Regions from separate parts of the Homo sapiens genome. Here all the other regions are linked to region 3. Evidence: promoter capture Hi-C in human tissues and cell types (Jung and others, 2019). All regions are on one chromosome and are shown on one strand. Each heading gives the region's core, a stretch centred on a gene start or on the middle of the fragment in contact. The rest is flanking DNA. Distances are from core to core; before and after follow the strand shown. Region 1 has its middle 30 kb from the start of LINC02082. Region 2 overlaps LINC01997 (long intergenic non-protein coding RNA 1997). Region 3 holds the start of MECOM (MDS1 and EVI1 complex locus).

What was found. The method cuts DNA at HindIII sites, captures the fragments that hold promoters and counts their contacts. A contact is called where the count stands out against the background at its distance.
Region 1: a fragment that was not itself captured here is called in contact with the fragment with the promoter of MECOM in region 3 in 1 of the 25 tissues and cell types used here (H1 embryonic stem cells).
Region 2: a fragment that was not itself captured here is called in contact with the fragment with the promoter of MECOM in region 3 in 1 of the 25 tissues and cell types used here (dorsolateral prefrontal cortex).

Annotation. Positions count from the first base shown.
Region 1 is chr3:168,930,933-168,933,632 of GRCh38, forward strand. No RefSeq gene overlaps it. Among named protein-coding and RNA genes, the nearest start is that of LINC02082, 30 kb to the left of the region's middle. The HindIII fragment of the contact is 5,448 bases long and covers 1-2,700 here.
Region 2 is chr3:169,004,313-169,007,012 of GRCh38, forward strand. LINC01997 (long intergenic non-protein coding RNA 1997) reads left to right here. Exons shown (of 3, transcript XR_924689.3): 2 at 847-966; 3 at 1,683-2,631. Among named protein-coding and RNA genes, the nearest start is that of LINC01997, 2.7 kb to the left of the region's middle. The HindIII fragment of the contact is 4,556 bases long and covers 1-2,700 here.
Region 3 is chr3:169,662,284-169,664,983 of GRCh38, forward strand. It overlaps MECOM (MDS1 and EVI1 complex locus), which reads right to left and starts at 1,429. Exons shown (of 17, transcript NM_004991.4): 1 at 1,053-1,429. The coding sequence starts at 1,089. RefSeq lists a silencer at 321-420. The HindIII fragment of the contact is 10,305 bases long and covers 1-2,700 here.

The DNA of each region.
Region 1 (2,700 bases), core at 74-2,573, 730 kb before region 3:
CGTGTGAAGAGACCACCAACAGGCTTTGTGTGAGTAATAAAGCTTTTTAATCACCTGGGTGCAGGTGAGTCTGAAAGGAGAGTCAGCAAAGGGAGTTAGGGGTGGGGCAGTTTTATAGGATTTGGGTAGGTAGTGGAAAATTACAGTCAAAGGGAGTTGTTCTCCTGTAGGCAGGGGTGGGGGTCACAAGGTGCTTAGTCGGGGAGCTTCTGAGCCAGGAGAAGGAATTTCACAAGGTAATATCATCAGTTAAGGCAGGAATCGGCCATTTTCACTTCTTTTGTGATTCTTCAGTTGCTTCAGGCCATCTGGATGTATACGTGCAGGCTTGGGCTCAAAGGCCTGACATTCCTGTCTTATATTAATAAGAAAAGCAAAACCAGATAGTGGTGAAGTGTTAGGGTGGTGAAAATTTTTGGAGGTGGTATGAAGAGATAATGGGCGATGTTTCTCAGGGCTGCTTTGAGTGGGATTAGGGGCGGTATGGGAACCTAGAGTGGGAGAGATTAAGCTGAAGAAAGATTTTGTGGTAAGGGGTGATATTGTGGGGTTGTTAGAAAGAGCATTTGTTGTGTAGAATGATAGGTGATGGCCTCGATACGGTTTTGTATGAATTGAGAAACTAAACGGAAGACACAAGGACTGAATAAGAGAAGGAGAAAAACAGGTATTAGAGGACTAAGAGTTGGGAGGACCCAGGACATCCAATTAGAGAGTGCCCAAGGAGGTTCAGCATGATTATTTGCTTGGTTGGTGAGTTTTTGGGCCCTATCTTTGAGTTTTTTTTTATGTTGCCATGTACCATGCCAGATTGATTTAGGTAAAAACAACACTTTTCATTTAAAAATATACAGAGTCCTCCTTTTTCAGCAGTAAGTCAAGACCTATTCCCGTCTTATTGTATTAATAATAAGAAAAACAAAACAAGATAGTGGTGAAGTATTGGTGTCATGAGGGGAACAGGAAGCTGTTCGGTAATATTTGCAAACTGATTTTTAGGGGTAAGGAAAACTAGTGTACATGTGCCTGTCTAATTAACAGGTAGACACATGTAGGTAGAGGAGCCACAGAGGAAGAAGAGACCTTGTGTAAGGCAAAACTAGAAATGTAAAGTAGGGGAAAGAATTGGAGTGTGTTTTTTCAGCAAAGGTCATTTATCCACTGTAAGAGGGAGTTAAGAGTGGTGGTTAGGGGATAAGACCAGGACCAGCTATGATGGTTTGGAGAAAAAATATAAGCCAGTAGTGTAGACAAGGGTGGGCACTCATGGATAAGTGAGAACGAAGAATAAGAGTATGACTAGACAGAAGACAGCAAGGATGAAAAGTTTTTAGGATGCAGTTTAAGTAGTAGGGGTGACTGCATAAAGCACTATTGCAAAGAGTAGGGTAAGGATGAATAGACCTAACAAAATGAAAGGATGTATTAGGCTCATAAGGGTCACTACTGTTCTTTAGAAATGTGGGTGACTTTAAGGGAAGTAGGGATAAGTACTTGCGACTTCTAGGAGGAAGAGGAGAGATCAAGCTGGCTGTCTGATGGACACAGCTTTATTCTGGAATGGTAAACCCAGTGGGGAGGGTCCTGCAGGTGGAGGCAGTTGGGGTATTATAGATGACTAAGTAGGGTCTGGTCCAATGAGGTTGTAGAGTTTGAGGGATCGGATTCTTAACAAGAACTGATTCCCACTAGCGTGTCTTTATATGGCTGGGAATCTGGAGTAGGCAAGAGAAGATTAGCAACCTAGCGAATTTCCTATCTAGCCTGCTGGAGGACTGGAAGATAGTCGCCTAGAGGGCTGGTGTCTGGGAAGAGGTTGGGGCTGAGCAAGAAAGTGAATTATGTCTAACAGAAGGGAAGAAATGACTGCAGCGGCCCTCTCAGGCCTTGTGGGAAAAGCCTCTACATATCCAGTGAAAGTGTCTTTCCAGACCAAGAGGTATTTTAGTTTCCTGACTCAGGGCTTTTGAGTAAAGTCAATTTGCCAGCCCGGGGCAGGGGCAAATTTGTTTCAGGACCAAATGTCATGTGCATCTGTGTGAAGAGACCACCAACAGGATTTGTGTGAGCAATAAAGCTTTTTAATCACCTGGGTGCAGGTGGGCTGAGTCCAAAAAGAGTCAGCAAAGGGAGTTAGGGGTGGGACAGTTTTATAGGATTTGGGTAGGTAGTGGAAAATTACAGTCAAAGAGGGTTGTTGTCTTGCAAGCAGGGGCAGGGGTCACAAGGTGCTCAGTGGGGAGCTTCTGAGCCAGGAGAAGGAATTTCACAAGGTAATGTCATCAATTAAGGCAGGAACTGGCCATTTTCACTTCTTTTGTGATTCTTCAGTTGCTTCAGGCCATCTGGATATATGTGCAGGCTTGGGCTCAGAGACCTGATAGAGGGAGGTGAAAGGAACTTCTTACATGGGAGCAGCAAGAGAAAATGAGGAAGACACAAAAGCAGAAAGCCCTGATAAAACCATCAGATCTCGTGAGACTTATTCACTACCACAAGAACAGTATGGGGGAACCACCCCCATGATTCAAATTATCTCCCACCAGGTCCCTTCCACAACACATGGGAATTATGGGAGTACAATTCAACATGAGATTTGGGTGGGAACACAGAGCCAAACCATATCAACTCTTTTGTGACCCAAAATACTCCAGGTGTTCTAAGAGCTCAAGATGGCTAGCAATGACGCTGCCTCTTGCA
Region 2 (2,700 bases), core at 89-2,588, 660 kb before region 3:
AATTCATTTTATATATCAAACAAGTTTAGGGTCGATAAAATATATTTCTGAAAACTAAGCAGGAAATGGCAGTCTCGTGGTTAGAGTATTGATGGAGGGCCAGGAGTTTATTTTCACCTCCACCACAAGTTCATGACTCATGTGATCTAGGCAAAATAGTAGATTATTTCTCTTCTCCTTCCTCCACCTGAAAACAAAACAAAAACAAAAACATCGACTTTTTCACCCTTCCAAAGCCCTTTTCCTATTCATCCTTGCTTGCTTCTCTTGTTTCTCCGTTTCCTTTTCTTTCATTTATAGGCCAACCCCAAAGTTTAAGGAGATTGTGGCAAGGTATAAGTCAGACAGGTATTCTTTTCAGATCTTTTAAAACCATAGTATCACAGCAACAACTCTAAAAAAAATGACACAGACAGAACAAACCCGAATAAAAAGTTTGAAATAGATATATTTGACTTTTGCTCAGAATGAGCACAAGGGTTCTGAGAGAGGAGCTGAGGATCCCTAGAACCAGGTGCACAAAAAATATTCTAAAGAATTTCTTCTGAAATCTCAATAGGAAGTCTTCGAAGGTGCCACTGCTCCTAGTATGGGATTACTTCTTAGACTCAAGAGAAAAAATAAATATTAGAAAATAATTATCAAATGAAATACTCCCTGGGCTCAGGATACTCTGGTGCAGCCTGTGTCTATAATTAGGCAAGTAAAACAAATCATGGCAAAATTACTTTAGATTTGTTAAAACCATGTTGGCATTAGTGAACATTTTTACAAGACATGAATTATTTTTATTTTTTAACTGCTTTCTTGATAGTTCAAATGTTTCATTATTTTCTCCCTTACCAGGTTATACACATCTACAAGCAAGGACTGGATGTTCTATGTCATGGATCTCCCAAAACCCCTGGCACCATTGGTTGACGGTCCAAAGTATTTGACTTGCTAAAGAATCTTTCCCTCCTAGAAGTATAAAATTCTACTTTATTTTCCCTATAAAAACAAACAAAATAACTATATATATATGCTGATATTGAACCAGAATTACAAATAATTTGTAATGTCAGATATTTAAATTCTACCTATTTTATAATATTTATTTCACAAAAGTCACAAGACTCACTATGTTATACAATAGAGTTTTCAGAATCACTTTACAGAATCTTCTTTTTTGATTTCTATGTAACAATTGCTATTTTACATTAGCTCTAGTTTGAAACATATAACCTGTAATTTAAATATATAATTGTAAAAGTCCCTTTGCTTGTTTATGAATGTAGGTCATAATGCCAAATATATCATGATTAGTTATTTCCATTTATTGAAATTCCTGGGTTTGTCATAGATAGCTCTTATTATTTTGAGATACATCCCATCAATACCTAATTTATTGAGAGTTTTTAGCATGAAGGGCTGTTGAATTTTGTCAAAGGCCTTTTCTGCATCTATTGAGATAATCATGTGGTTTTTGTCCTTGGTTCTGTTTATATGCTGGGTTATATTTATTGATTTACGTATGTTGAACCAGCCTCGCATCCCAGGGATGAAGCCCACTTGATCATGGTGAATAAGCTTTTTGATGTGCTGCTGGATTTGGTTTGCCAATATTTTATTGAGGATTTTTGCATCGATGTTCATCAGGGATATTTGTCTAAAATTCCTTTTTTTTGTTGTGTCTCTGCCAGGCTTTGGTATCAGGATGATGCTGGCCTCATAAAATGAGTTAGGGAGGATTCCCTCTTTTTCTATTGATTGGAATAGTTTCAGAAGGAATGGTACCAGTTCCTCCTTGTACCTCCCGTAGAATTCGGCTATGAATCCATCTGGTCCTGGACTTTTTTTGGTTGGTAAGCTATTAATTATTGCCTCAATTTCAGAGCCTGTTATTGGTCTATTCAGACCTTCAACTTCTTCCTGGTTTAGTCTTGGGAGGGTGGATGTGTCAAGGAATTTATCCATTTCTTCTAGATTTTCTAGTTTATTTGCATAGAGGTGTTTATACTATTCTCTGATGGTAGTTTGTATTTCTGTGGGATCGGTGGTGATATCCCCTTTATCATTTTTTATTGCTTCTATTTGATTCTTCTCTCTTTTCTTCTTTATTAGTCTTGCTAGTGGTCTATCAATTTTGTTGATCTTTTCAAAAAAGACACATGCACACGTATGTTTATTGCGGCACTATTCACAATAGCAAAGACTTGGAACCAACCCAACTGTCCAACAATGATAGACTGGATTAAGAAAATGTGGCACATATACACCATGGAATACTATGCAGCCATAAAAAATGATGAGTTCATGCCCTTTGTAGGGACATGGATGAAGCTGGAAACCATCATTCTCAGCAAACTATCGCAAGGACAAAAAAACCAAATACCGCATGTTCTCATTCATAGGTGGGAATTGAACAATGAGAACACATGGACACAGGAAGGGGAACATCACACACCGGGGCCTGTTGTGGGGTGGGGGGAGGGGGGAGGGATAGCATTAGGAGATATACCTAATGTTAAATGACAAGTTAATGGGTGCAGCACACCAACATGGCACATGTATACATATGTAACTAACCTGCATGTTGTGCACATGTGCCCTAAAACTTAAAGTATAATTAAAAAAAAAAAAAAGAAGAAATTCCTGGATGGAAGGGTGTCAGAGACAATGAGCCACTAATTACATCTGAGCCTCAATGGTTTATTGGAG
Region 3 (2,700 bases), core at 179-2,678:
CCCAGACGAAGCGCCGGAGGCTGCGCTGCGCCCTCTCCGCGGCCCAACGCTCTGGCAGCCCGCCCCCTGGGGTTTGCTCGGCGCCCAGCAAGCCCGAGGTGCGCGGGTCGCAGCGCGCCCTCTCTGCCTCCTGCTCCTAGGCTGCCGCCGCTGGCTGTGTGCCCTCCACTCCCGGCTCTCCGAGCGCTCGCTGGGCCTCTTCTCTCCCCACGTCCGAGCGCTCGCTGGGCCTCTTTCCTCCCCACCTGCGCGTGGCTGTGCGGAGCCGGTAGCTCTGCTCTGCCCGTGCCCCCGCCCCCACCCCGCGATCACAGCCCCCACCTTGGTGTCCCCTACTCCCCGCCGCAGTCCTCCCGCCGCGCAGCGCCGCGCCGGAGAGCATGGCCGAGCGCACAGCGCCCACTACCGCAGCCGCGGCTCGGCGCAGTCCACCCGCCCGCCCGCGCAACTTCCAGCGGCCGCCTCGCAACTTTTCCCAAGTCCACCACAGCCGCCCGCCGCCGCCGCCACTGTGGCTCCCTCTGAGCCGCCTACCCTACCCAAACCCCAGAAACAAACCGAGGCTCGAAAAGGCTCCCTTCTCCTGCCGGCCCCCCATCCCCCGCGCCCCCCTCCTCCCACACCCGGGACTAGCTGGTTGGCCAGAGGCAACTCTCCCCCGCCTGGGGGGAAGGGGAGGGGAGGGGGAGACTTTCTCCTCTTCTCTTCCCCCCCACCCCACCCCTTCGCGCTCACTCTCGCGCTCTCTCCTCCCTCCCACCCCTAGTCTTTGCTGCCCCCACCCCCACCCCCACCCCGGGGTTGCCACAGCTGGTCGGTGCGCGGGACTGAGGGCTGCCCAGGCTCCTCCGGCGCCCAACCCGGGAGCGAGAGCGCGGGCGACCGGGAGCAGAGACTGGAACCGGCAGGTTGCTGGGGCTGCGCTCCGCCTGCCCTCCACCCGGGGCCCCGGCGCAAGAGGCAGCCCGCGCTCCCTCCCGGAGCGCTAGAGACAGATATGCAAGATGGCAGAGGAGGGGGAAAAGCCAATAGAAAAGGGATATTGCACCTACTTGTGGCCAGTTTCCTTGCCCTGCCTTTGGATCTCATGCTGTGCCCAGTCCTGCAGCCGCTGGTGTGTGGTTGGGGCTTTTTTTTCTTGGATCCTTTCCTTCTTTTGCTCTCCCTCTCGCTCCCTCCCTCTCTCTCCTGTCTCTCTCTCTCTCTCTCTCTCTCTCTCTCTCTCTCTCTCTCTCTCTCTCTCTCTCCCTCCCTCCTGTTTCTCTCCTGTTTCTCTCTCTCTTCCACACACTCACTCTCTGTATTTTCTTCTTTCACTCTCTCTCCCTCCCTCTCTCCCTTTCTCTCAATCCACACTCGCTATCTCTCCAGCATTGTCAGTTTGGACACCTTCGCACATGCGCGCTAGACGCCCCTCCAACATCTCAGCGCCGCCAAAAAAAGTTTGGAGCGATTTATCACTTTGATTTGGAGATCTTGTCAGATGGCAATCGCCGAGGAGGCGGAGAAAGGGAGCCGCGGGGAGGGCGGCGGGGGGCGGGGAGCGAACGCAGGGAGCCAGAGGGGAGCAGACACCTCGCCCAAAAAAAGGGGAGGGGGGAATTGAAAAGGCTTGGGCAGAGGATTGATTCCATGTTAGAATCGCCAACAAGCTTGTATCATGATTATTGTTATTGTTTTTCCCACCATAAATTGCAGACATTTTTCTATACCATCTACGAGGGAAGCAAGAAGCCAGGGGGGAAAAAAACTTTAAAAACATTTTTTAAAAACCCTTCTCCTGTTAAAGAACTAGAAGGGCTGGACCCTCGGCTAATAATCCAGGAGAAAGTGAGAATCATCCTGAACTTGAGAAATCTACTGCTGCCGCTGCTACTGCTACTGAAGCTATTGCAGCTTCCGCTTTCAGGGTTGTAAGCAGAATAAATAACTGGTTTTTTCCTCGATTTTAGCTGTAATACCAATGCTTGCTGCCATCCTTGGGACATTTCAGTATTCTTTCCCTACCAAGTAGTAATGATCACCCTTGATTCCCGGGTCCGGGCCGGCGCTGGCATTTGACATCCAAAGACCTCCTGCTTTCTCAGAGGTCGGCTGTCACCTTCCGGCCTCCCCCACTGCTGCCCCGGTCGCCTCCCGATGCAGCTCTGCTTGCCTGCCATTTTCACTCACTCGCTTAAACCTACAACCTCGGGGTCAAAAGAAAGAGGAGTAGGGAGGAAAATCACACACTCTTAAAAAAATACATTGTTGAAATTTCCTTTAATTACAGGATTTACCAATGAAGTGCCACTCAGAAATGGGAATTCCTAAAGGGGCTAGCTGTGTACAAGGTATGAATCAATCCCAACTAGGTATAGATTTTCTTTTGGTACAACCTTCTTGCATTAAACAGTTTTGTTCAATACCTTCCATGTGCTATTTATGTCCCCATTAATATCTGTTGCAAATCCTGCCAGACACCATAAAAGAAAATTACAATCTTTTCAGTCTCCGTGCTGCAACAATACATCCTTGATGTTCAAGTTAAAGGAAAAGAAAAGCAGGTCCTGGGCATGAGTTTGGCAAAGGCTGTGGAGGGAAAGGGGAATCATTGAGAATGCCCAGTCGTACCTGTTGGTATTTATTATCAAATCTAGGACTGCAGACATGAGAGAGCAAATAACAAGGTTCAACCCCAAAGGGTATCAATGGCCTGCA